6 separate regions of the Homo sapiens genome follow, and regions 1, 2, 3, 4 and 6 are each linked to region 5. The links are contacts of gene promoters, found by promoter capture Hi-C in blood cells and fetal thymus (Javierre and others, 2016). All regions are on one chromosome and are shown on one strand. The core of a region is centred on a gene start or on the middle of the fragment in contact, and the rest is flanking DNA. Distances in the headings are between cores, read along the strand shown. Region 1 overlaps DGAT2 (diacylglycerol O-acyltransferase 2). Region 2 overlaps UVRAG (UV radiation resistance associated). Region 3 holds the start of DGAT2 (diacylglycerol O-acyltransferase 2). Region 4 holds the start of RPS3 (ribosomal protein S3). Region 5 holds the start of THAP12 (THAP domain containing 12). Region 6 overlaps GDPD5 (glycerophosphodiester phosphodiesterase domain containing 5).

The links. Contacts are between HindIII fragments. The CHiCAGO score rates a contact against its expected background, and 5 or more counts as called.
Region 1: a fragment that was not itself captured here is called in contact with the fragment with the promoter of THAP12 in region 5 in 1 of 17 cell types (neutrophils); the score reaches 5.4 in neutrophils.
Region 2: a contact is called between a fragment that was not itself captured here and the fragment with the promoter of THAP12 in region 5, in 3 of 17 cell types (naive CD8 T cells, naive CD4 T cells and non-activated CD4 T cells). The highest score is 6.2, in naive CD8 T cells.
Region 3: a fragment that was not itself captured here is called in contact with the fragment with the promoter of THAP12 in region 5 in 2 of 17 cell types (neutrophils and fetal thymus); the score reaches 5.9 in neutrophils.
Region 4: the fragment with the promoter of RPS3 here is called in contact with the fragment with the promoter of THAP12 in region 5 in 2 of 17 cell types (neutrophils and erythroblasts); the score reaches 8.7 in neutrophils.
Region 6: a fragment that was not itself captured here is called in contact with the fragment with the promoter of THAP12 in region 5 in 1 of 17 cell types (fetal thymus); the score reaches 5.1 in fetal thymus.

The regions. Positions count from the first base shown.
Region 1 is chr11:75,784,140-75,789,045 of GRCh38, reverse strand. DGAT2 (diacylglycerol O-acyltransferase 2) reads right to left here. Exons shown (of 8, transcript NM_032564.5): 2 at 4,300-4,428. Among named protein-coding and RNA genes, the nearest start is that of DGAT2, 18 kb to the right of the region's middle. RefSeq lists a silencer at 2,308-2,602. The HindIII fragment of the contact is 4,380 bases long and covers 1,467-4,906 here.
Region 2 is chr11:75,822,093-75,827,120 of GRCh38, reverse strand. The region is part of intron 1 of UVRAG (UV radiation resistance associated); the gene reads right to left. Among named protein-coding and RNA genes, the nearest start is that of UVRAG, 9.4 kb to the right of the region's middle. RefSeq lists an enhancer at 2,626-2,705. The HindIII fragment of the contact is 1,019 bases long and covers 3,161-4,179 here.
Region 3 is chr11:75,766,677-75,769,176 of GRCh38, reverse strand. It overlaps DGAT2 (diacylglycerol O-acyltransferase 2), which reads right to left and starts at 399. Exons shown (of 8, transcript NM_032564.5): 1 at 65-399. The coding sequence starts at 185. It overlaps DGAT2-DT (DGAT2 divergent transcript), which reads left to right and starts at 530. Exons shown (of 4, transcript NR_046090.1): 1 at 530-683. RefSeq lists silencers at 80-319, 400-509 and enhancers at 596-1,096, 2,403-2,500. The HindIII fragment of the contact is 4,152 bases long and covers 1-2,500 here.
Region 4 is chr11:75,396,023-75,400,956 of GRCh38, reverse strand. RPS3 (ribosomal protein S3) reads right to left here and starts at 1,439. Exons shown (of 7, transcript NM_001005.5): 1 at 1,380-1,439; 2 at 133-263. The coding sequence starts at 1,409. SNORD15A (small nucleolar RNA, C/D box 15A) reads right to left here and starts at 566; the gene lies at 419-566. RefSeq lists enhancers at 13-876, 1,103-1,462. The HindIII fragment of the contact is 4,256 bases long and covers 1-2,964 here.
Region 5 is chr11:76,378,093-76,382,600 of GRCh38, reverse strand. It overlaps THAP12 (THAP domain containing 12), which reads left to right and starts at 1,469. Exons shown (of 5, transcript NM_004705.4): 1 at 1,469-1,853. The coding sequence starts at 1,765. It overlaps GVQW3 (GVQW motif containing 3), which reads right to left and starts at 1,278. Exons shown (of 2, transcript NM_001347885.2): 1 at 308-1,278. The coding sequence starts at 772. RefSeq lists a silencer at 1,191-2,120 and an enhancer at 1,763-2,264. The HindIII fragment of the contact is 4,414 bases long and covers 681-4,508 here.
Region 6 is chr11:75,520,657-75,525,616 of GRCh38, reverse strand. GDPD5 (glycerophosphodiester phosphodiesterase domain containing 5) reads left to right here. Exons shown (of 17, transcript NM_030792.8): 1 at 1-407. LOC105369389 (a long non-coding RNA gene) reads right to left here. Exons shown (of 6, transcript XR_007062784.1): 6 at 3,760-4,960. Among named protein-coding and RNA genes, the nearest start is that of GDPD5, 2.8 kb to the left of the region's middle. RefSeq lists enhancers at 1-325, 2,253-2,302. The HindIII fragment of the contact is 1,637 bases long and covers 893-2,529 here.

The DNA.
Region 1 (4,906 bases), core at 2,407-4,906, 600 kb after region 5:
AAGGAAGGAGAGCTTGTGCCATGCCTGCTTTATCTCATGGCTCGCCACTAGCTGCCCTCAGCAGGGCTTCTCTCTTTCCATTTTTTACCCAACCTTTAAGGCCTATCTCAGACCTCAGCTCTTCAAGAAGTGTTCCCCAATATCATACTATCTACATATCATCTCTTGCCTGTGAATTTCCCACACTGGGTGGGGAGGCATCTTCTTTGGTCCTTGGCATTCAGCACAAGGGCAAGGGCAGCAGGTACTCATGTTTGGTGGGAGAAGCATGGACTCCTTCTAGGACTTTTTCCACTGCCCAAGAAGGGAGGCCAACCCTTGCTGTGTGCCCATTCCCTGGTGGTCCCAGGTGCTGTAGGCTGCCTGGCTCTGGATGTCATGCTCTCTTCTCACCATGTTGAGCCTCCTTTGGTTTCCCATGGGAGAAGATAAGGCTGGATGTAGACTCTCCATGAGCCTAAAGGGAGGGAAATGGTAGCCCCTTGTTGCCCCCCAATCTAGCCCTGTTCTAGACTCCTGAGCCAGCCTCTCCCCAGGGTAGCTAAAAACAGGGTACAACTCTCTTGTTGGGAGGAACAGTGAATACAGAGTGACGAGATGTCCAATTTTTCAGGACCAGCTTAGGGGTGTGACATCGCAGAAGGGAAGACAAGTTTCTAGGGAAGCATGTGCAGCCTACAAGAGCCTGTTAAAAGCAAACTGTGAAAAGCTTACGGTAGCTTGGTGAATAGCTATGTCTAAAGGCTGCCTACAAAGTCATACTTACTGTTCAGCAGTCTGCCTGATTCCCTTTCTTGGGCCTGAAAAGGGAAGACTCTAGCCCCCCAGACTCTACAGGCATCCAGGCTCCTCTAGTGGCATCCTCTAGGTGGATGCTCCAGGTGGGCCAGATAGGGACGATGAGGTTTAGGCTATGGTCTGAGCATCCTGGAAACCTAGCTTCCAGAAATCTCTAACTCTCTTGAGGGGTAAAAGGACCAGAGGGGGCTGAGCTCCAGGCCCCACTGCTTAGAGGGCTGGTCTCTCTGGGAAGGGGGGTAACCCTACCCACTTGTCCTTACTCTGCTGCTGAGGCAGCCTGGATGGAGAAGAAGAGGCCTGATGGGGTATCCAGAGACTGAATTCTAGCCTGGCCTTTCTCAGCTGGGGGCTCCCTCCCCTCCCCTATGTGTCCACAGCCCTCTCTGAAACCACTCACCATCCCTTTCATCATCTGCCTCCCTCATTGGACTCCCACTAACAGACAGCCCTTCAGCCCGAGCTCCTTGGGAGCAGAAACCAGGTCAGATTAATCTCTCCAGCCCCAGAAACCAAACACAGGAAGAGCAAAAGGATGAACTAAATCCACCAAATGACCTTCCTTTCTCAGAGCCTAATCCTTGTCCTCTGAACAACAGGCTCTGGTTCCATGCTCTTAGGTTGTGGGGCTGCAGTAAAAACCACTGTTGCTGAGCTCATGAGAAGCTTAGAAGGCCCTGCTTTGCCCCACACATGGAAGGCTCAGGACCACTTTCACACATCACCTGCTTCCTGCACATTATGGTGGCCTACAAAGACACTTGTGATACAAAATTCTGAAGCCACGAGGCCTGTGGTGCAGGGCAGCCTGTGGATGCTCAATGGCAGGGAAGGCAGCAGTGTGGCCTGGTGAAGAGCATGGACTCTGAGACCAAACAGACCTGGAGCCTTGGCCCTGCCACTTGCTGGCCAAGCCCCATTCCTAAGCCTTAATTTCCTTACAGGGTATTGGGAAAATTAAATATGATGTTTGAACTTACTCAGCCTGACACACAATATCCATGGACTTGGATGGGGAAACAAATGACATCTAAATTTTCACTTATCTCTTATGGAAATGTGGCATTTCCTTCACTTACCAATATAATAAATCACAGAATTATCAGCAGTACTTATGACACAAATAAATAACAAAGGTATTTTCATATAACTTTGTAGCAGTTGCAGATATCTTAAAAAAAATCATTTCTTCTCATCACTACTTAAGAACTATAGTAATTATTACATGTGCTGCTAGATCTTTTTATTTACTGTAATAAAAAGGCACCTGTTACTACATGTCTAATCAGCTTTTTTAATGTATAGATATTTATATTTTATTATCAGTAGTTTCCTTTGAAATCCAATGCACCTTGTATTAAATACTCTAAAACACTGAGAAAGGGCATAGGCCTCATCAAAATGACAGAGGGTTCCATGGCACAAAGTGGTGAAAAATCTCTGGTCCAGGGAGAGACCAACAGGGCCACCACGGTCTTTGCTTGCCAGGTGAGCTTCTGCCAGCAGGTTTGAGAGGCAGAGGGAAGGAGTGGCTGGGGCTGCTGAGGGCAGTAATTAGCAGTAGCTCAGGAGATCTGCCTGTCCAACGAGGCCAGGTTCCCACCTATGCGAGGCGAGGCGAGGTGAGGCCAGGCGAGGGTGTTGAGAAGATGCTGGGCCGGTTTCTGGGCTGTGGTTGGGTCTGATCAATTATTAACCTATAGCCTGGGGCCAGTCCCCATCACATGCTGCGTGAGCTGGTGTTCTACAAGCTGCTCAGCTCCCTACCAGCCAGGCCCAGACCCATTAAGACAGGGATAGTGGTAGCTTTGGGGTGCAACAGGGAACAAAGAGAGCTGGTGTAGCAGACTAGGCAGGGGGTCTGGGAGGCTGGAGTCCCTGGGTTCTTGTCCTGGTCCCAGTACTTTCTTCTCATGTGACCCCAAGTAAGGCTCCATCCTCGCCAGGCCTCCACTTCCTTTTTTAACAAGAAGGGGTCACACTGTGCTCACTACTCTAGGATTCTAGTAAGTGGCCAAATGCAAGCCATGTTAGGGGTCTGAGTCCTGAGGGAGACTGTTTAGTTTGCTCAGTTCTTCCAACCAGTGTTTGTCTTCTTGAGGCTACCTGTCCCTGTAAGACTTTGAGGACAGCTATGGCCCTTCTCCCCAGAAAAATGTGCACATACTCATATATAATCTTGCATCTAATTTTAAGGGTTCATGGATCCCCCCACTCAAAGCCCGTTCTTGGGCCTAAAGGTGAAGACTGGCTGTTTCAGCCCCAGTTCACTAATTCTGGGCTTCCAGGAATGTGGGCTCCCTGGGGAATGCACTGAGTTTCTGCTAAAATCCCAACTCTGCCATTTAATGAGCTTCACAGTAGCAGGTAGTTGATGAACCTTTGTGAATTTGCATTTTCTCACCTGTGAAGTTCTATCCCTTGGCCCTGCAAACATGGTCTCAGTCTCAGAGCGCCCCATGCACCTGCCTGAAGGACAGCTGCTCAGCACTGACATGGTAAGTCCTGATGATCCCCTACCAGCCTATACAGTCCCGAAGAGTGGGTTGCCCAGAGGGACTGGCTCACAGGCACTGGAATGCACTCTGTGATGCTCTGGAGCAGGTTCATCTGCCTTGACGTGCTGAGGAAGCTACCTGCTATGCTGAGAGCACAGGGGTCTGGGGAAAAACAAGAGGCTTCTTCCCTCCCCTCAGACATTCGTGTTGTCCTGCCCCTGGCCTGGATGGCAACCTAAGGAGTGAGGGTATCTAGCCAGACCTGCAGAAAAAGCAACCAAAGCACCGATGTGGGCTGTGCTGAGAGATAGCAGGGAGCAGGCCTCGGGAAGCACCTGGGGAATGTGCTCAGCTGAGGATGGGTGTGGGCTGGGAGTGGGGTCTGAGGGCACCTCCCGATGATTCCCATGTAATGGGGGCCCATCATGACCAGGCCCTGTGCCAGGTGCTCTCATTTCTTATCTTCAATCCTCAAAAAAGCCATGTGAAGCAGGCACTTTCCTCACACTCAAAATGAGGAAACTAACACTCAGAGAGCTCAAATAACCTGTGTAAGGTCACAGAGCTTGTCTGCAGGAGATTCAGGACTTAAACCTGGCACCAAACCACCTTAAGGCAAAGTAACATACCTGCTGGAAAATGTCTGTTGGTGGGCAGGGTGGCATTGTGGGAAAGGCACAGGCTTTGGGGGTCCTGTAGACAGGGATTCAAATCTGTGTGACCTTGGGCAAGTTACCTATCTTCTCTAAGACTTGAGGTTTCCCATCTGTAAATGGGAACTATCACACCACCTCCCACTGAATCTTGCTGAATCTTCATGCATGCTGAGGGGTAGAGCACTTGATCTGGGACCCAAAAGATAGATGTGGAAAGGTGCTGTGGGGCAGCATGTGTAAGAGTTACTCTTATTCCCTCACCCCTGTAGAGCAGGGCTCCTGCTCTACCTCTTTTGGGGAAGTGGACACTGCCTGCCCACCTGCCCTCCCTCTAAGGCCCAGCTTACCCAGTACAAGGAAGGACAGGACCCACTGGAGCACTGAGATGACCTGTAGCTGCTTTTCCACCTTGGACCTATTGAGCCAGGTGACAGAGAAGAGGTCCTGGAGGGCGGAGAGGATGCTGGATCCAGTGCCTACAGCAGAGGGAAGATGTCAGTCCACTGTCACCCTTCTCTCCAGTCATGGGGTCCCCAGTACAAACCTCACCTCCCACAGGTACCCTTCTAGATATGAGAAGAGCATCAGCTATAGAATCAGACAGACCTGGGTTCAGATCCTAGCCCTCCACCTCATGGCTTTGTAACTCTGGGCTGTCTGCATGCTCCCCTGTGCCCTGGTTTCTATAGATACACAATGGGAATGGTATCGCACTCGGGGTCATTTTGGAGACCACATGAAGTATCTAAAGAGGCTAGTCCAAGGGCTAGGCCTTGGGAAGTCTCTCATAATTGCCAGTTCTCTCCCATCCCCTCCACCCCAGTCAAACTCCTGTCCCTTATCTGAATCTAGTACAAATATTTAATTTTGCTATCTGTCTGTGAGGCCAAGGACAGAGGTTCAACATCCAATTTGCAATGGTTTTTTTTCTCCAAGTGTACTTTGAGCATCCCC
Region 2 (5,028 bases), core at 2,421-4,920, 560 kb after region 5:
TCTTTCCCAGGAGTCTACTGACAAAAGCCAAAGGTTGCTGCTAGTTTCAGCTTCCTGGTGTTCCTCATTATTTTCAAAAATGTCTGACTGCATCTTTTGGACATTATAAAAACCACAGTAGGAAAAAACGCCAGCTATTTCAATGGACCAACAAAGTGAGACTCCAAAGTGGTAAGTTCTGATGCTCAACTTCAGCATTATCAGTCTCAGCCTCTCAATCAATAAGCACACTATACTGGAGTTTTCACAAAGAATGGATAAGTAAAATGCCTAATAACATTACTACCACATAGGGTCTACAGCAATCAACACCAAATATTACACAGAATAAAACCATCAAAAAACCAGATGGTTACTCTTTCAGAAACTTAAAGAGGCAGAGAACAGAAGTTCTTAAGTAGAACATTTAAAAAAAAAAAAAAAAAAAGATAGGCATGGTAAGTACCCAGGGACAAAACAGGAAGACTGATCATTTAAGCTCCAGAGGGACATTCCAAAGTTTCACTCTAATTCACACCATAAAAGGGACGTGGGAGGGTGGACTCTGAGTGCTCTGCCCTTAAAGAGAACGTTAAAATACAGCCTCTCCTCCATTTCAGTTCTAGCCTAAAATCCCCAAAGCTGTGAGGCTAATGTTGCCAAAGGACCGAGTGAAGTTTAAGAAACAAGTTCTCGGCCAGGCTCACGCCTGTAATCCCAGCACTTTAGGAGGCAGAGGCGGGTGGATCACGAGGTCAGGAGTTTGAGACCAGCCTGGCCAACATGGTAAAACCCCGTCTCTACTAAAGATACAAAAAATTAGGTGGGTGTGGTGGTGGGCACCTGTAATATCAGCTACTCTGGAGGCTGAGGCAGGAGAATCACTTGAACCCAGGAGACAGAGGTTGCAGTGAGCCAAGATCGTGCCACTGCACTCCAGCCTAGCGACAGAGCAAGACTCCGTCTTAAAAGAAAAAAAAAGGAAAGAAAACGAAACAAGTTCTTGGCCAGGCACAGTGGCTCACGCCTGTAATCCCAGCACTTTGGGAGGCCAAGGTGGGTGGATCACCTAAGGTCAGGAGTTCGAGACCAGCCTGGCCAACGTGATGAAACCCCATCTCTACTAAAATTACAAAAATTAGCCGAGCGTGCTGGCAGGCGCCTGTAATCCCAACTACTAAGGAGGCTGAGACAGGAGAATCGCTTGAACCCAGGAGGTGGAGGTTGCAGTGAGCCGAGATCACACCACTGTACTCCAGCCTGGGTGACAAGAGCAAAACTCCATCTCAAAAAAAAAAAAGAAACAACTTCTCAACACACCCAGCCAAGAACAGTGGAACTGTTCACAAGACCCAGGTTCTGTTTATTTCTCTGCCACAAGCAGGAACAAGACACAAGACAGATCTGTTAAACTAATACTCTTTACTAAATACTCCAGGGCAAGAATAAATAGCTAGAACAAGTCTGTGGCCAGGCAAATAGCTTCACCTCAGAGGGCTTCAGGTTTTGCATCTGCAAAATTCCATGATTCAAAATTCATGTTTCCATCTTAAAATAAGATGGAAAACAAGGTTATGTGATACTAAATCAAGAAGGTATACTATGAATTGTAAAATTCCAATGTCAAGTTTCCATTCTGTGTGTACTCGTCTACTTTTATAATCTAAGGAGGCAACTGCTAAAATACTGTACAAGGCATTGAAAAAATTTAACAATATAAGACTTTACTGGCCAGGCACAGTGGCTCATGCCTGCAATCCCAGCACTTTGGGAGGTCGAGGCAGGTGGATCACCTGAGGTCAGGAGTTCGAGATCAGTCTGGCCAATGTGGTGAAACCCGTCTCTACTAAAAATACAAAAATTAGCCAGGTGGGGTGGTGGGCACCCCAGCTACTCGGGAGGCTACTCGGGAGGCTGAGGCAGGAGAATTACTTGAACCTGGGAGGCAGAGGTTGCAGTGAGCTGAGATCGTGCCATTGCACTCCATTCTGGGCGACAACAGGGTAACGCTGTCTCAAAAAAAAAAAAAAGACATTACTTATGTCATTAAACCTAAAACAAAGCATAAACCTAAAATGTTTCAACCTCTCTCATAAGACAGATGTCTTTTTCTAAAACACCTTCAGTTTGTAGCTGTACACATTCCAGTACGTTGAAAATGACAAACTTGGCCGGGCGCGCTGGCTCACGCCTGTAATCCCAGCACATTGGGAGGCCGAGGCAGGCGTATCATGAAGTCAGGAGATCGAGACCATCCTGGCTAACACGGTGAAACCCCATCTCTACTAAAAATACAAAAAATTAGCCGGGCGTGGTGGCAGGCGCCTGTAGTCCCAGCTACTAGGGAGGCTGAGGCAGGAGAATGGCGTGAACCCGGGAGGCGGAGCTTGCAGTGAGCCGAGATCGTGCCACTGCACTCCAGCCTGGGCGACAGAGTGAGACTCCGCCTCAAAAAAAAAAAAAAAAAAAAAATGACAAACTTCTTTTTCTCCCCAGCAGTAACATGTCTGACAGGTAAAAATACACAGCTTATCAAAAATACACATTTGGAAACTATGAAAATCTAATTTTTTTTCATTCTACCATACGTTTCACTTCAGGCCCAACTTATTAGTTTCAATTCTGCTTGTGCTCTATTTCTAGTCAGTTTCACTTCTGAATTTTCTACCACAAAGAATTGTGATCCTGTAGAGACATTTTAAAGTAAACACTAAATAAACATAGCTTTTCCTTTCAAAAAAAAAAAAACTCATTTTCACAGGAAAAAGAGAAACAAACAAAAAACATAAATTCCTAATAGCATTTTGTCACATAAAAATAATGATTTCAAGATGCTGATATCTTAAGTTTCTGAGGCTTCCTCATATCATTTTATTTATAAGAGCCAAACCAGCACAAAAAATTGCCATCATTTTACTTTTTAGATACTCAACTATATATTACATTTTTTCTTCGAGTTACAAGGGGCTTAGTAAATATTTGCAGAAGGAATGAATGTACACGGCATGGTAGTGCATTGCGTGAGGCACATGTTCCTGATAAGATGAACGGCCTTGCCAATAAAGCTGATTTTTTTTTTAGTAATAGAAAAATGATTAAATTAGATTAGCAAAAGTAGGGTATCCAAATAAACATAAACACAGAAAGGGAAAATATTTATCCTATACAGCAAAATCAAGCTTTAGATCTACTTTTCTGCTTCTATCATGTTTTTTTGCATGGGTTTCAATACCACTGAATCCAATCTTTCCTTGTTCTCTTTAGGCTGTAAAGTTCTTCAAGGGAAAGACTCATAAACAAAAAAACTGTACATGAGTTCCTACTAAATCATCAGCACAGTGTTAGGCACAAGTGCTGTAGGAAATAAAATATAAAGCCTGATGGTCCCAAACTCTGAGGTACTTAAAACTTTTCACCAGAACCCTGCAAAGAATGGGTGTCTAGGGCAAACAGGAAACACCTAGATTGTAGTCCCTTTGTTGACACTCTGTGTGACTTTAAGTTACCGGCCCAGTGCAGTCGCTCATGCCTGTAATACCAATGCTTTGGGAGGCCAAGGCGGGAGGATTGCTCGAAGCCAGGAGGTAGAGACCAGCCTGGGCAATATAGCAAGACTCTGTCTCTACAAAAATTAAAATTAAAAAATGAACCAGGCATGGTGGTGTGCACCTGTGGTCCCAGCTACTTGGGAGGCTGAGGCACATAATTTGAGTCCAGGAGTTAGAGGCTGAAATGAGCCATGATTTAATCTCCCATACAGAAAAATTCCAAATAATTTATGTAGATACTCTACCCTCAAGAAGGGGGAGCACAGATCTCACTCAAGTGTGGACTACACATAGTGACTTCCTTCCAAAGACTACAGTATAGAGGGAAGGGGAGGAAGAGTAACCTTATAGCAGAGAAACCTGACAAACACTACCTGTGGCCCTTCAATTTACAATAATAAATATATACTTTGGTCTTTGTACACAGTTCCTGGTGCAGAGCTCTTAAAACCTCTGTCATTCCCTGGGTGCCATAGGGGTACTAGGAGAATCTTTACTTTTCATATTTGGTCTTTGACCCCAGTTCCAGACACAACGCCTAGTCCCTCAGCGTTTCCTAGGTGAGGAACATCCTTTGTTCTAATGAGACAACTCTTGGTGAGCTCCTAGAAGGAGAATGGTCACCAGAAAGACCAGGCCATGATCAGAAGCTTGGAACTTTCAGCCCCACTCCCCATCCTCCAGGAAGGGGAGAGGGGCTGAAGACTGACTTAATAATTGATCATGCCTACATGATGAAGCCTCCATACAAATCACAGAACTACAGGTTTTGGAGAGTTTCTGGGTTGCTGAACATGTGGAGGGTGGAGCTGCCATGAGAGGGCATGAAAGCTCTGGGCCACTTCCCCCATACTGTTCCCTATGATATCTTCCATCTGGCTGCTCGTCTGTATCCTGTGTAATATTGTTTATTTAAAAAAAAAAAAAAAACAGTAAGTGCAAGCAAGGTGCTTTCTTGAGTTCCGTGAGCTGCTCTAGTAAATGACTGAGCCTGAGGAGGGGAACATAGGAACCCCCAATTTATAGCCAGTCGGTAAGAAGTTCCAGAGACCCAGACTTACGTCTGGCATGTGAAGTAGGGGACAGTTTTATGGGTCTGAGCCTTTAACTTGTGGAATATGATACTAACTCTAAGGAGATTGTGGCAGAATTGAATTGAATCATAGGACACCATATTGGTGTTCACTGGAGGATCGCTTGGTGTGTGGGGAAAAAGCCCCACACATCTAATGTCAGAAGGGTTATGCTGATAGTATAACAGTGTAATAGGAGAAAACAGCTAGTTTGCCTTTCCTATCATATGCTACCACAGCTGGTGATGATAAAAGTTAGAATCAACAGTGATAAATCAGCCAGGCATGGTGGCTCATGCCTGTAATACCAGCACTTTGGGAGGCCAAGGTGGGTGGATCACCTGAGGTCAGGAGTTCAAGACCAGCCTGGCCAACATGGTGAAACCCCGTCCTACTGAAAATAGAAGAATTAGCTGGGCATGGTGGCG
Region 3 (2,500 bases), core at 1-2,500, 610 kb after region 5:
TGCCACAGGGCCCTTTCCAGAAAATCTTCTCGCAGGTCCATAACCCCTGCGCCGTGGCACTCACCCCATCTCCCAGACCCCTCGCGCGACAGCGCAGGTCCTCCGTGAGAGCGCTGGCTCCGGTCAGCCTCGGCCTGACGCTCGCCGCGCAGGACCCCGGAGTAGGCGGCTATGAGGGTCTTCATGGCTGAAGCCCGCCCAGTCACGGCCCCGCGGGAAGCCGCTTCACCCCGCGCCCCTGGCCCATGCCCCGGCCCCCGGGGCCAGGGCTTCGCGCAGAGCACAGGGGTCCCGGGACGGCGTCGAGGCTGGGCGGCTAGGACACCTGGAGCTGCGGCCGGCGGCCAGTGGTGGCGCGAGAGAAACAGCCTAGACCCCAGCAGAGGCGGCAGCCGCGGCGCTGGCGTCCCGGAGCGCAACACTTTATCACCTCACAACGGGGCAGGCGCCGACGCGGCGGGCGGGGCGGGCCGTTCTAAGCCGCCGCCCGCGCCACTTGCTTGTGGGGGAACCGCACCTGAGGCTCTGCTTGGCGCGGGCCCGGGGCTGGCCAGCAGCCTGCTCCGCGCGGATCCGGGGAATGCGTGAGAGGAGAGCAGCTCTGAGCCCTGCTTCCAAGGGGCGCGCCCGGTTATTCCCCTCGCTCCCTCAGTCCGACCCCGGGCGCTCCCCCGCGGAGATTGGTACGGCCCGGCGGCCAGTACCCGGGCGGGGAAAACCAAGCACGTGCGGTGCAGGCAGAGGGCGTGCAGGGGGTCGGGCCTTTACTCTTTAGGAGGGGCTGTCTTTTGGCAGCAAAGATGCGAAGGTCCCGCTTTTGGTCACTGGTATCAGGATTAGTTAGGTTAGGGCTGGGTATCTCAACCACCCAAACTGCTTCTGGCTTTCCATCTCTTTATTAAGAAACCTCACAGAGCACCTATACCCTGCTGGGTGCTGGGGACCCAGCCAGATCAGCCCAGGTTCTGCCCTTGGGATGCTCACGCTGGGGGGCAGCAGAGACAGCCGCACACAGTCACTGGTGACAACGGCCGGGACAAGCGAGAAACCAGGGGGCTATGGAACCACAGAGTAGAGAAGACTCTGCCCTGGGCTGGGGGAGTGGGGGCGCTGGTGCACTTCCCAGAGAGGTTGGTGCACAGCAGGTTTGGAATCAGATAGACTAGGAGTCCAGTTCTTGCCCTGCCTCTCTTGAGCCTCAGTTTCCATATCTGTAAAATGGGAATAATAATTATTATTTTTGTGAGGTACTTTGAGAAGTAAATGAGATAAGGTATAAAAAGAGCCTAGGTAGTGTCTGGCACATAGAAAGCATTCCAGAATGGTTTGCCCATTAATGAATAGGAATTTTGCAGATGGAAGGTGTGAGGGCAAAGCAGAAAGATAGGCATAAAGTGTTAGAAAAGCCAGCATGTTTGGGGCAGGGCTGGGGGCCCTGGAGTGGCTGGAGCCCAGGCAACTGTGGAAAATGAGGCTGAAGTGAGAGGCGCGGGTGCTTGAACTGAGAGAGGTTTGGGAGTGCCACTCTTGAGATATTGGGGGGGAGCCGGGTCTTGGGAGAGCTTTAGTAGGGAAATGGCTGGTCAGGTGGGTTTTAAGTGTCCTTAGCCATGGTATGGGAAATGGACAGGAGAGGCTGTAGGTCAGGAGGGCAGTGGGGAGGCTGTAGGGGCGGGGGATCCATGTGAGAGAGGATGAGCCTCAAGGCACGGCAGTGGTAGAGGGAATGGAGGGAAGGCCTGATCTAGGGAAGAGCATAGGAAGCGAGATCCACCAGCATGTGGTGGAGCGACTTGTTGGATGGAGGCTCAGGGAACGAGTGGGGACAACAAGCATGTCAGTGATAAGACAGATTTCTTAGGCATAGCTGGAGCGAGATAGCTGTGGGGTCACAGCATAAGAGGAGAGGAATTCCCTGCCTTTGTGGTCTTTATCATGTTCTCACAGGGGGAGAGGAGAATGACAGAAGTTACAGGCACAGGGCAGCAGGTAATAGATGCCTCTGGTGCAACCTAGAGATGCTTCCATTTGTTCAGCCCTCTCAAGGCCACAGGAGTAAATCTCTCAACCGTGTTACTGGGCCCCAAGGCCCGAATTGGCCAAGAGTAGAAAGAAAAGCATTCCAGGCAGAGCTCCCAGCATGTGGTGAGGCCATGAGGCTGGAAAGATCTTAGTGCCTTTTAGGAAACTGAGGGTAGGCTAGTGGCATGCCACATGTGGGGGATGGGGGGAGACATGGGGACTGGTAAGTGCAAAGGCTGGGAGGTAGAAACAGGTGTGGTTTGTTTTTGGGCAAAGAGGAGTGAAGCCAGGAGGATACTGAAGGTGCCAGTAAATCCTGGCATCCTCTCCTCAGAGAGGGTGCTCTTGGAGGCAAGACTCCTGCTGGCCTGGAAGATCCCAGGTCAGTCTGTGGCTCGTGCCTGCTCCAGAAGGGTCTCCTGTGGAGGAGGCCTGGGCTGGAACTCATGGCCCACCCACTCACCCTGGGCAAGTCAGT
Region 4 (4,934 bases), core at 190-2,689, 980 kb after region 5:
GAGCCGAGATCGCGCCACTGCACTCCAGCTTTGGGGACAGAGCAAGACTCCGTCTCAAAAAAATAAATAAATAAATAAACCAACTTAGCATTTATAACAATTATAGGTGATGGCCAGTCAAATGAGTTTTACCTGGTGGCTAAGATAATGATTTCTGTCCTGGTTGGTGTAACTCGCACCTCAACTCCAGAGTAGCCATCTTCAGCCAGCTCCCGAGTAAGAAACTCATTCAGTTCAGCTTTGAAGATGCCATCAGCGACAAACTAATCCAAACAAAGCAAAGTTCAAAATTAGGAGATCGGTGTAGGCTCACTTTCGCCTGAGCCAGTCTAGTCTTATTAGTCAATGCATCCCTCACCAAAACTAAATACCTCCAACCAATGGTTCCAAACCCTTGTTCCAACAGGAGTGCAGCAACCCTTCTCAGACAAATGCCTCTAAGTCATCTTTAGGAAATTACTTCAACCAGGGCTCTTTAAACTGTGCCACAGAACGCAGCACAGAGTAGGCCACCTGGGCAAAGAGAACATCCCCAAGTCAGACTCGTCATCATCTCTTCATCGAAGGGTTTAAAACAGTTCCACATGCAAAACAAGAAACTGCTCTAATGGCCTATTTACACTTCATTCAGCACAGCAAAGACACTGTACTTGTCACTGTTAAGGAATAGATAGTAGACTTAACATATAAGCTCTCTCACTTGTAGACACAACCTGCACCGTCTAAAGAATCCCAGCCATGTTATTTGGCTTTACGGTACCAACAGAGCTGGCAAATCCTAACTCTCGAGAAGTTGTGGATTTAATTTTGACATCGAAGTGTATATACGAAATGACAAACTGTCTATTTTTAAAGCTAATGATTTTTACACAGTTCTATCCCATGTAATGACAAGGCGTTAAATCCGAGGCAGCTTCCTCCCGGGGTCCCCAGACGGAGCAAGCAACCGTCAGCAACCCTTCAAGTTGAGGTCCTGGGGCCAGCGGACTGTACCCAGAAACGACCAGTTAAGGCAAGAATACACTGCTGCCTTCTCTTCCCAAAACCACGGGATAAGACATGAGGGAAATGACACACGCCCTCAAAATACCACGTTTACTAATTCCGTTGACCGACAAATGCTCACAAACGCCTTCTCCGGGACAGAAGGGGCGCCTGGTGCCCATCTCTCTGCGCTTCACTTGGAACCCGGCCACACAGCGCCCTCCTGGCTGGGGCCTCTCACTCAATCCACCGCCATCCGCGGCCCGCAGGAACGCCAGGAAGCCTAGGCCGCTTCCAGGGCAGGCCACGGAGCTGCAGGCCTCGCGGTGGCACCCCGAGAAGCCCTCGACCCGCGCGGCGCCGTCGTTCTCCGAACCCAGTCCCCAGAGGCTCACCTTCCTCTTCTTGGATATTTGCACTGCCATCTTGCCGCCGCGCTCCGCTGAAAGGAAAGGAAGTGGCTCGCGGGCGGAAGTGAGTATAAAGGGCGCGAGCGACGACGGAGGGCTGCGCTGCGTGCACGCCTGTGGGTGCTCATGGGAAATGTAGTTTTTACGTAAGTAAGGCGTCCAGGGAAAGAAGAATGTAGGCAGGAACAGGAAAGGGGCTTCATCCAGCAGGACTTCTAAACTTCAGGGGACCTTAGAGTTCAATTCTCATAGTTTCAAAACAAGCAATGTGAGGTGCAGAGGTGGAAATTACAGGTATAAGTTCACACAGCAAGAGAGATTAACCAGCGTGGAACTCTGGCCCCTACACTTTCAGGGTGGACACTGTAATGAAAATCTGCTGAAATCCCTCAGTGAAACTCATTTAAGACTCCTCTTTGGGAGGCCAAGGCGGGCGGATTACTTGAGGTCAGGAGTTCGAGATTAGCCTGGCGAACATGGTGAAACCCCGTCTCTACTAAAAATAGAAAAATTAGCTGGGAGTGGTGTCGGGCACCTGTAATCCCAGCTACTCGGGAGGCTGAGGTGGGAGGATTGCTTGGACCTGGGAGATGGAGGTTGCAGTGGGCCAAGATCCTACCACTGCACTCTAGCCTGGACCACAGAGTGAGACTCTGTCTCAAACAAACAAACAAACAAACAAACAAAACAACTCATGTCCCCCAGTCTGTACCCATTTCCTCCATTCCAAATGATAATAATAAAACCTGATACTTACTAAGTGTCCTAGGGACTGCGTTCTGTGTCCTTTATGTTGTTCTCATTTACCCCACCTTACTTTCATCAAGTCCATTACAATTTGTAACAGAAGTCCCAGAAGGTCCCATGGGCCCGCCCTTCCTTCCTTCCTTCCTTCCTTCCTCTCTCTTTCTCTCTCTCTTTCTCTCCTTTCTTTCTTTTCTCTCCGGTTGCCCAAGCTGGAGTGCAGTAGTACGATCTCAGCTCCCTGCAACCTCCACTTCCCAGGTTCAAGTGATTCTTCTGCCTTGGCCTCCTGAGTAGCTGGGATTACAGGTGCACACCACCACACCCAGCTAATTTTTGTATTTTTAGTAGAGATGAAGTTTCACTATGTTGGCCAGGCTGGTCTTGAACTCCTGACCTCAAGTGATCCACCTGCCTTAGCCTCCCAGAGTGCTGGGATTACAGGCATGAGCCACCGTGCCTGGCCTTCTTTTTCAATTAAAAAAAATTCTAGCCAGGTGCAGTGGCTCAGGCCTGTAATCTTAGCACTTTGGGAGGCCAAGGCAAGTGGATAGCTTGAGGCCAGAAGTTTGAGACCAGTCTGGGCAACAGAATGAGACACCCTCATCTCTATGAAAAGTGAAAAAAGAAAATTATCCAGGTGTGGTGGTGTGTGCCTGTAGTCCCAGCTACTCTGGAGGGAGATGTGAGAGGATTGCTTGAGTACAGGAGGTCTAGGCTGCAGTGAGCCGTGATTGTGCCACTGCACTCAGCCCGGGCAACAGAGTGAGACTCAGTCTAAAAAAAATAAAAAATTAAAAATGTCCCTTCATTTTTTAATGAAGCTTACAGAACAGTTGAAAAAACTGTACGTGTATGCATCACCAAGCTGAGGGGGAATTGAGAATGATGCTACAATTAATATTTTGCTGTTGCTTTATCGTGGATCTACTCATCCCTGTAGCCACCCACCAATACATCTTTTGAGGCATTTCAAAGTAAGTTGCAGACATTGGTAAACTTTACCCCTAAACACTTCAATAACAGTTTTATTTTATTTATTTATTTATTTTTGAGACGAAGTCTTACTCTGTTGCCTAAGCTGGAGTGCAGTGGTGCGATCGCCGCTCACCGTAACCTCCACCTCCCGGGTTCAAGCGATTCTCCTGCCTCAGCCTCCTGAGTAGCTGGGACTACAGGCAAGCACCGCCATGTCCAGCTAATTTTCATATTTTTAGTAGAGATAGGGTTTCACTATGTTGGCCAGGCTTGTCTTGAACTCCTAACCTTGTGATCCGCCCACCTCGGCCTCCAAAAGTGCTGGGATTACAGGCGTGAGCCACCGCACCCAGCCAACAGTTTTATTTTAAGTTTGAATAGTTTTCTTCATTTAAAAGTCAGGGTATTTCTCTCTAAAACTATTTTAGGTTTTTCTTAAGGATATAGAAATATCTAGCAAAATAGTGAACCCACATTTCTTCATGGGCAGTGCTCTCCTTTCCTGTTACACAAAAAGAGTCTTTCCAAGGTGCCACACTCCCTGGCAGCACCACTCAGTTATTTTCTGGTCCTAGAAGCCATTGGAGTGTTTAACTCCAGCTCTAAAACAACTCTGATGTAAAGTGACCTGTCCTATAATCACGGAATTAACAGAGTTCTGTGGTTGCTGAGCAGAGGGACCAGGGAAGATGACAAAAAGTGGATGGGCGCGGTGGCTCATGCCTGTAATCCCAGCACTTTGGGAGGCCGAGGCAGGTGGATCACCTGAGGTCGTGAGTTTGAGACCAGCCTGGCCAGCATAGTGAAACCCCATCTCTACTAAAAATACAAAAATTAGCCTAGTGTGGTGGTGCACGCCTGTAATCCCAGCTACTTGGGAGGCTGAGGCATGAGAGTCACTTGAACCCGAGAGGTGGAATTGCAGTAAGCCATGGTCAAAGCCACTGCCCTCCAGTCTGGGTGACAGAGCGAGACCCCGTCTCAAAGAAAAAAAAAGAAAAGAAAGGAAAAGAAGTGGATGAACCAAAGAACCAAAGAGATGGTAGCTGTGGATCTATCTTTTTTTTTTTTTTTGAGACAAAGTTTCCCTTTGTTGTCCAGGCTAGAGTGCAGTAGCGCAATCTCGGCTCACTGCAACCTCTGCCTCCTGGGTTCAAGCGATTCTCCTGCCTCAACCTCCCGAGTAGCTGGGATTACAGGCATGCACCACCACTGGCTAATTTTTGTGTTTTTAGTAGAGACAGGGTCTCACCATGTTGGCCAGGCTGGTCTCGAACTCCTGACCTCAGATGATCCACCCACCTCGGCCTCCCAAAGTGCTGGGATTACAGGCGTGAAGCACTGTGCCCAGCAGAAGCCCTAGTTTCTGACTTCAGTTGTGAATGCTTGGCGACAATCCTTACCAAGATGAGGAACCTAGGAATAAGTTGTTTTTCTTCCCCCCCCCACCCCCCATCCATCTGTTATCTCTCTCTGCTCTTCATGTGCCTCTTCATCCAACTCCTTGGTCTGTCTATAGAGTGGGGCCAGGTTGCTGAAAACATGAGCCTGGTAAATCCACCTGCCTATGGATTCACTAGAGATGTGGGCGCTGAGGGAGAGCACCTGGCCTTGCGTGCTGGGATCAGAGTAAAATCACAGCAGGCTCCTAGACCCTCTCAGTGAATCGCTTCTATTTTTCATTCCCATATGCCTCACATTCTCCCACGGTCCCTATTATAATCTTTGACAAAGCTAGAACCCCAGAACCTCCTCCTCACTTTCAATAGTCAACCTCCCTCCTAGTCCCTTGCCCCCCTAATAGATTGCACAACCAGA
Region 5 (4,508 bases), core at 220-2,719:
AGAGTCCAGCAAAGAGTAATGAGGAGGGCCATGGCACATAGGGAGGAGTGGTGAAGACTGAAAAATACGTGAGCAGCCAAAGAAGGTGCCTAACAGTGAGGCAGCATCCTAGTTCTGGTTCAGCTAACTCACATTCCTCTCACCATGGGGTGAACCAATTCTCAGCTACCCTGGGGGGAAGGCTTGTTGAAGATGACGCCTGCAGAAGCTGACTGGCAGAGTAGTGGACTCTGGGATGGGATACCGGCAGGGGCATTTCCCCACCAGCTTCACCCTGGAGATAACTCCATGTTTCAGAACCTGTTACCTTTTTCCTCAAACATGAGCTATTTTTCCTAGTTTCCTTTGAAAGATCGGACCGAAAGTCAAGTTTTCGTGGTTTAGGCTCACCCTTCAAAACACCCGAAATAACTTTTGCAGAAATCTTCCTCATGTTCAAGTTTTCTTTCAAAATGAGCCTAACAGTTTCTTTGTCTAAATTTAACTCTTCAGCCATCATCCTCACGGTTAACTGCCTGTTTGAACAAACCAAGTCCTTGACCTTCTGGATATTGTCATCTGTTCGGTGGGTGACTGGACGCCCACTTCGGGCATCATCTCGAACATCTTCCCGTCCTTCTTTAAACCTTTTGTGCCAGTCAAAAACTCTGGCCCTTGACATGACTTCATCCCCATAAGCTTCTTTTAAAAGATGGTGGGTCTCACTTGCAGACTTGTTCAATTTCACGCAAAATTTGATACTAATCCTTTGTTCTAAATAGCGGTCACTCATTCTGGCACTGAACAACACAGGAACGTTTAACAGGCCACGACTGTAAGGGAAAGACGGACAGATCAATCTTTATAGGGCTGCAGGTGTAATCATATCGCTCTTCTTGCTCTTCTAGAAGCCTCGCCGGGAAAGAGTAATTGCTTTTATGAATTTTTGTCCCTCAGCTTCCAGTCGAGGCTGGGGAGATCCGTTCTGGGAAGCCAACAGTCGCTGCAAAGCTGGGAAAAATTAAATCGCCTACAACCACGTCTGCATCAAACCAGTGCACGCACATCTGCCGAGAGTTTGCCAGTCACCAAGGTCGCTCCGATTCCGCGGCCCTTAAGGAGTATATGGCGAATTCTGCAAGAAAGGCCTAAGTGGTGGCAAATTAAGCAAGCAAGAAGAGATGCATCGGTGATGTAACGTGCAAGCTCGCCCTAGATCTGCAGAAACCCGCGCACGCCAAACCTACCGGAGCAGCCCAGGAACCGCCTGCTCTAGCGTCCCGGGAGACAGGCGCGCATGCGCAATTCTCTCTCCCCGCGGATTAGACTGTGCGCAGTCGCACTGCGGCGGCGCGCGCCAGGTCCCGCCTCCGCCTCGCCACACCCCGGCAGGCGCGCTTCCTTGCGCGTGCCCGCCTGCTGAGAAGGCGGAAAGGAGGGGCGGGGGAGGAAGGCTGAGGGAAGAGAGGGCACCCCCGGGCGTCAGGGTGCATTGTGGGAAGGAGGCGGCAGCGTCTCGGGCGGGCGGGAGGTGCACCAGCGGCGGCGGCGGCGGTAAATCCTCCCGGCCGCTCACAGCACTGTGGAGCCGCGTCCCCAGCCCGGCCTCGGACCGCGGCACCCCTCCTGGCCCTCGCGGCTTCTAGCCCGCCCGCCCCTCCCCCGCGCGTCGGCCCTGCCGAGCCGGCCGGCCGGCCTGGCTCCCCTCCCCGGCCCCGACGGGCGGGCGGACTGCCCTGAGGAGGCGGGGAGGGGAGGGCTGGGCCGGCCGGCGGGCGGGCGACGATGCCGAACTTCTGCGCTGCCCCCAACTGCACGCGGAAGAGCACGCAGTCCGACTTGGCCTTCTTCAGGTTCCCGCGGGACCCTGCCAGGTAAGCGGCGGGCGCAGAGCGGGCGGCCCGGGCCCACCTTCGCGGTGAGCGCTGCCAGCCGCCGGCCCCTGGCGGGCTCCCGGGCTGGCTGAGAGGGGCGCAGGAGGCGGGCGCAGCGCACTGCCGTCGACCCCAGCGTTGGACCGAGATGGGGAGCCGGCCCCGAGCCGTGGGCGGGCGGGCGTCCGGGGACCTCGGAGCACGTGCGCTGGTGGGGGCTCTGCGCGGAGGACACCACCCCAAACGCGAGGGAGCTGGGGCGGCGCGCGGACGCGGGATGCTGTGGGTTCTCGCCGTGGCTCACTTGCTGTGTGACCTCGGGGGAGTCGCTTTCCTCTCTGGGCGTTAGTTTCCTTAGCTGTCAAAAGAGAGCAGGACTCTATGGTTGTGGCCACTGGGGCCTTTCCCTCTCCTTGCCACCACCCCCGGGACAGTGTTTCTGTTTTGAGTCCCGCTACCTTCTTTCATCTCATCGCAACTGCTTTCTCCTTCGGACTTGTCATTGCACGGTTCAGGATTCATTTTCTGGCTGTCACCGTTACTCATTTTCTCGCTTGGGTATTGTAGGGATAACAGAGGGTGTACGCGTGAGGGCGTGGAAATTGGTATTGGAACCTCTTCCTTCGGATAACCCCCACACACTGACATATTTAGGGAATGATAGCATAGGGACTGTGTTTGAAAGGCTGAGATGTTTCATAGGCCTGTCTTGTTGGTTCATTCATTTAAAATCAATGCCTACTATGTGCCGAGCGCAAATGTTAGGTGCTGGGAGTTCATGGGTGAATAAGGGTGTCACTGCTTGCAGAAAGCTCTCAGTCCAGTAAGGGAACAGGTGCAGCAACGGGCGACTATAATTTATGTTATTTATTAATTAGTTCAATTAATTATTGAAGGTCTACTTGTGTTGGCATTGTTGTGAGCAGTGGGGGTTACAGATGAACAAATCGAAGTCCTTGCTTTCATGAAGATTACATTCTAATGGGGGGGGAATAAACAAGTAAAATACGTAGTGTGTCGGATGATGATAAATACTGTGGAGAAAAATAAACAAAGGTTAGAGGGTAGGGGAATAAGTAGTATCAAGGGACGCACAATTGCTATTTTAAATACAGTGATTAGAGAAGGCCTCACTAAGAAGGTGAATTTGAGCAAAGACCAGGTGAAGGGGCCAGCCATGGAGATACCTTGGGCAGCAGCATTCCAAAGAAGGCAAAGACAGGGCAACCAGGAGTCCAGGGAGAGGGACTGGGAGAGAGGTGAGATGAGACCAGAAAGGTGTGTGTATGGTAGGGGCAAATTCTTTAGGTAGGACCTTGTAGGTCTTGGAAGGCACTATGGTTTTTATTATGAGTGAAATAGGAAGTCATTGAAGGGTTTAGAGCAGAGACTTAAATTTTAACAGGATCAGTGGCTGCTCATTAGATTGTGGGGAGGCAAAGGTGAAAGCCGGAAGACCAGTTAAAAGGCTGTTGTAATAATCCAGATTAATAGAGGAGGAGATGGTAAATTTGAGATATGGTTTGAAGGTGAAGCCAACATCATTTGCTAATGGTTTGGAGGTAGATTGTAAAAGAAAAAGAGAACTTAAGGACGACTTCAAGATTTTAAAAATCTATGTTGGCCAGGTTGGTCTTGAACTCCTGGCTTCAAGCAGTCCTCCTGTGTCGGTCTCCCAAAGTGCTAGAACAGGCTCTGAGCCACCGCGCCCAGCCGACTTCAAGATTTTTAACGTGAGCATTTGCTGAGATAGGGAAGACTGGGAAGAGCAGGTTTGGTAGAGGAATACTAGAAGTTTGGGTTTGAGAGACCTGATAGACATTCAAGAATAGATGTCTAGGCCGGGCATGGTGGCTCACACCTGTAATCCCAGCACTTTGGGAGGCCTAAGCAGGCGGATCACTTGAGGTCAGGAGTTCGAGACCAGCCTGGCCAACATAGGGAAACCCTGTCTCTATTAAAAAATACAAAAATTAGCTGAGCCCAGTGGTGCGTGCCTGTCCAGCTACTCAGGAGGCCAAGACGTGAGAATCGCTTGAACCCAGGAGGCAGAGGTTGCAGTGAGCCGAGATCGTGCCACTGCACTCCAGTCAGGGTGACAGAACAAGACTCCGTCTCAAGAAAGAAAGAATAGATGAAAAAAAAAAAAGAATAGATGTCTTTCTTCATACCATATACAGAAATGAACTCCAAATGGCCTATACTTTTATTGAGATCAAAGGCCTAAATATAAGAGCTATGTCATTAAACTTTTAGGAAAAAAATACAGATAAATCTTCATGACTTTAGATTTGGCAGCACATTCTTGTTTGTTTTTTGTTTTTTTTGAGAGTCTCACTCTGTTGCCCAGGCTGCAGTGCAGTGGCACAGTCTCAGCTCACTGCAACCTCTGCCACCGATGTTCACAAACTATTCTACTCACTCAGCCTCCCAGGTAGCTGGGATTGCAGGCATCCGCCACCATGCCTGGCTAATTTTTGTATTTTTTTTTAGTCAAGACGGGGTTTCGCCATGTTGGCCAGGCTGGTCTCGAACTCCTGATCTCAGGTGATCTGCCCGCCTTGGCCTCCCAAAGTGCTGGGATTACAGGTGTAAGCCACCGTGCTTGGCTGGCACCACATTCTTAGATATGACACCAAAATACATGCAGTAAAA
Region 6 (4,960 bases), core at 462-2,961, 860 kb after region 5:
GACGGGACGCTCCTAACGCCGCCGTACCGGTCCGTGGTTGCAGGGTCGCTCCGCGCCTTTCCGTCAGTGAGGGTCGGAACCCCAGCTCCAGGGCTAGCGCAGTGTGGCCCCAGGCCCTCGCCTCCGGTGCACGGGACCCCGGACCCCCCCAGCCTCTGGCTTCACGAGACCCCAACCTTCAGTTGGAACAGCTTGGAACAGCGCGAGCGCCCGGGAAGCCCTGGCCGGGTCGTGCGCTCGGTGAGGGGTCCTAGGCGGGCAGGACAGTCGGACCGAACCGCCGGGCTGGTGCCGCGAGCCCAGGCTGTCACCTTCGTCCCGCCTCAGGTGAGGGGTTCAGCGCCTGCCCCGAAGATAACACAGGGGTCCCCTTCTGTCCCGGCGGCCTGCGAGAGCCAAGGCTGCAGGTGAGAGCCCCGGATGCGCGGCAGGAGCGGTCCCCGACCCCATCGCGGCAGCGCGGGGGCCAGCGGAGGGAGTGTCAGGGGAAACAAGCAGAGGCTGGAACTGGCTGGGAGGGGGCGCGGGAAGGGGAGGGGAAAGAAAGAAAACGGGTACTTATTGAGCGCCCATTGTGTGCGGGTTCGCGCCCTGCCCCGCCCCGCCCCGCCTAAGCCTCACTGCTACTCCTGAAATAGGTGTTGTGTATTATTATCGGCGCTTGCAGATGGAGAAACTGAGGCTTAACGGGGCTGAGTGACCTCCTTTCACTGCGGGGAGGAGACTGGGGAAGCGGGAGAGGATAGAGGGGGAAGAGGCAGAGCACTTGAGCGCTGATGCTAAAGCTGAGGAAGTGGCTTCTTCTTGCCTCCCGCTCCCTGGCCATGTCACCCGCGAGGAAAGGTGACTCAGAGTTGAGGGTAGAGGTGGGAAGCTTCCCAGTTCCAAAGCTTCTCTCCCTGTGGGCCCAGGATGTGAGAGCAGCAGCTCCTGGCCCTTGTGTGTCAGACTCCAGGGTCTCTAAGACACTCTGGAGGTCCTGAGACGTGCTTATCTGTTGGTGAATTCACTGCAGAGATCCCCAAGTAAGGGTCTGTCAGAGCTGGAGATGTAGCCCCTCTGGGGTGGCTGGAGATGTGGCTCACGTGACTCACCTCCCTCACATTACTAATGGGGACACTGAGGCCCACCCGAAGGGAGTGCCAGTTGTCCGATCCTAAAGCCAGTGAGTCCTTGAGCCACAAGTAGACTTGAGAAAACCTTCCTGAGCATCCTTCAAGGTATGCACACTCCTCCCCAGTTAGGATCTTCTGGATAGGTGGCTGGGGCTTTCCCTATCGCTGATGTGAGATCTGGGCGACCATGTATGAGGCTGTGGTGAGAATTAGTGTGGTTGGTTGCTGGGGCCCCGAGGAATGCCTGCAACCGCATTGCCTTTGGCCCAAATGGAAGGTCCAACCTCATTTTCTTCTGGGCAGGGGAACCTGCAGGATACCTCTGCCCAGGAAGGAAGGGACCTGCTCAAGGTCTCAAGGCTGGGGGCTCCCAGGGCTGGGGCACAGTCCCAGGTGTCTTTATTCCCAGGCAGGGGATGCTTCTGCTGCCCCCAAGGCATGTAGGGAGAGGGGTGTTGTGAAAGAGCCCTTGGCATGGACTCTGTGGGCTCTTATTCTGTGTGGGGACGGGGAGGGGATATGGCCTTGGTCTGGGCCCTGTGGCCTTGGCTAGGCCTAGTTAACCCTAGAGATGCCCAACTCCCTGGAGTCAAGGGGAAACCACCTTGGAAAGCCCCTGGAAGGTGGAGGAGCGTGGTGAGAGGTCTGTGGAAGTCTGAAGCTCAATCCCTGGGGGTGGAAGGGTTAGGGGATCCCAAAAGACAAGGTGACTGAGGGGCTTGGGATTCCCTCTACCCCAGACCTCTGTCTGGGGCTTCAAATCCTCGCAATAATCTCTATGTCTAAACAAAGCTCTTTGATGAAATAATTTCACACCTGTGATCTCCTTTCATGACGTGGAGAGAGCCTGGAACCTAGAGTGAAGCAGAGGAGGGTTGCAGAGTCACTTGTGACCTCTTGATGCATCCATGGTTCCAAGTGCCACTTTAAAATAGGTTATGGCAGGCTGTGTGTTACCTGCTCAGTTAGTGGGGCCATCACATCTGGCTGTCAAGTGCTAAGGGGCATGTTGTACTTGCCAAGACTGGGGAGGTTATTAATGGCCCAGTCTCGTGTGGGCAACTGAAGCTCAGAGAGGTAAAACCACTTCCCCAGGGCCTTTGAGTTTGCTTGTAGAACTGTTTGAGTGCCAGCTGCATACCAGGTGCCCTGGAAGTTACCCAGACGGGCTAAGCGGCAGCCTCGAGCCACAGTAACTGGTGAATCCCAGATAGTGGTAAATCAGACAGACCAGGTGGGCGTGAGTCTACTGTGCCTCCCACTAGCTGAGTGGCACTGAGCAAATCACTTCATCCCTCTGAGCCTATAAAATTAGAATACCTCCTTTAGCAGGTTGTTGCGAGGATTAAATGAGCTACAAAGATGCAGTGCCTGGCCAAATATCCGTTTCCATCCCTATGAAGAAAAGGAAGCTTGAAGTTTGACCAGGAAGTCTGGGGAAATTCTCAGACTTGTCTTCGATTAGAACGCAGGATATGGTTGCAGGGCAGGCTCAGAGACCTGAATTTGCTCAGCTCAGGCTGCTGTGTGGGTCACACTCCCCTAGTCTCATAGCCTCTAGAATCAGTCTGCTTGGGGACACCGGCAAGGGGCTCTGGATTCTTACCCCCTCCCTTGGCTTCCTGCTGGCAGGGCTGTGGTGCCTGGAGCTGGTGTCCATTCCCTCGGGCCCATTGTCTGACCTCCCTAGGCACCAAGGTGCAGTGAATAATTAATACTCCCCTCAGCTGGGGGCAGGCTCAGGGAAATAGCTCTATGTTCAGTGAGCTTCTGAACCCTACCAGAGGAGGTGGGGGCTCCTGTCTGTGCTGTTAGCAGTCTTGGATATGGGGGGGCAGGCAGGATAGGACAGGGAGAAAGTGTCATCTGGCCCCCAACAGGAGAGAGCTGGGGTTGATGATGTCCTGTCTCTTCTGTTGGGGGCCAGATGGTCCCACAGGCAACACTGGGAACCAAGCTAGCTGAGCTAGGATCAAGTGGGCCTCTGATTCCAGAGAGGTGGTGACGGGGAGGAGTAAGGGGGAGGGTACAGGGCAGAAAGGGGTGGAGGGGAGGCCCTTGAGGACTGGAGTAACCAGGAAGGCTTTGTCAGGGAGGTGGCTGTCTGGGCAGGAGCTAGAGGAAACTTGCTGCAAAGACGGGGGGTCCTGACATCCCTCCAAGAAGGAATCCTGGCTGTGCCACCGCCTCACTGAGAGCATGGGAAAGACACATGATCCCATCAGGCCTCCATTTCCCCCTTTGTGAAATGACGGTTGTGATGTCCACTTCTCAAGGCTGTTAAGGATCATCTTGAGGTCCCATGTGTGAAACACACGGCACTTTAGGCACTCAACAAGGGGGTGCCTCATCATGAGTGTGAGCTAGTGGGCTAGTGGCGGGGCAGGTGGGATAGCGTGGTAAGCCGAGAGGTAGGGAGAACTTGGGGCGAGGAGGATGGCTTGGTGGGGTTAGTGAGGGGTGAATGCCCATATAGGAGAGGGCCTTGAATGTTAGACAGAACTCACATTTCAGAAAGCTTAATGGAGCCCCCATTTAGAAGCCTCTGTGGCTCCTTACGGCCTGTAAGATGAAGACCAGGCCCTAGTTATGGCATTCAGGTCCTTGGTCACCTTAGCCTCTGCCCGGCCTTCTGGCTCATTGCTCTGCACTGTCTCCTAAACACACCACATGTGGCCCCATCACAGCCCCTTTGTTTGTGGTTCCTCCCATCAGAACCGCCATCCCTGCCTCTGCTCCACTTACCTCCCCACCTGTCAAGACCTGACTGAGGTCATAAATTCCCTCAGAAACATTCCTGGATTACCCAACCCTCTGGTCATGCCCCCTCTGAATCTTTAACATTCAGCAGTAATAGTAAAAAATAATACCTACTATCCATAACATTTTGCAGTTTGTAAAATGTATCCACACAATACTACAGTGATGATATCAACAACAGCTGATATCTTGAGTACTTACTATGAGCCAGACAATGTGCTAAATGTTTTATAGACACTCTTGTTCACACAAACTCCCTGAGGTAGCTACTGTTATCCCCTAGAAACTGGGGCTCAGAGAGGTACCTGATCTTGCCCGAGGTCACACAGCTCAAAGGTAGGGAGCAGGGAGCCAAGCTGCATCTGTTTGAATTGTAAATCTGTGCTTAGAAGATGTCCTGTCTCCTCACCTCCACCCAAGTACCTTGAAAGCATACTTTGTGTGTAAAAAGCCTGGACAAGGTTTTTTCTCAAGGCTAAGGAAGGGCAGTGTTGGACTGAGCATGGGGCCCAGGAAGGACCTGGGCCCTAGGCCGTGCACAGGCTGGCTGGTTGTCTGTGTGACCTGGGGTGAGTCGGCCCCTCTCTGGGGTCCCGTGTGTCCATGTCTATGGGGAGCAGGGTGGGTTCTGAGCTCCCCTGTAGCTCCAGCTTTCTACATCGTCTTTCGTGACCCTGGAGGGAGGAGGAGGAGACCACAGCACCAGGGCCAGAGGATGTGGTATGACGGGCAGCTGTGATTTTTGGCCTGGCCACTGTCTGGGCCAGCAGGCTGTGTGGGTAGCTGCCTCGCCCAAAGGAGGGTGGTGGCCTGAGCTGCAGGCAGCATGGTCATTAGCTGGCAGAGGAGACCCTGTGATTGGGAACTGGCTGGGCCAGGCCAGGCCAAGTTGGCGGGACTGGAGGCAGGCTGGCCGGGCCACAGCGGGGTCACTGGCAGGGCAGCCAGCTTCTCCTCCCTTTGCCCCCTTTGGGGTGGTGGCAAACACACACTGGGCACCAGAGCTTTGTAGGCCAAGGCTTACCCTTTCTCCTGCTGTGACCATGGGAAAGAGCAGTAAGGAGTTCAACCAGGTCCAAAGATGC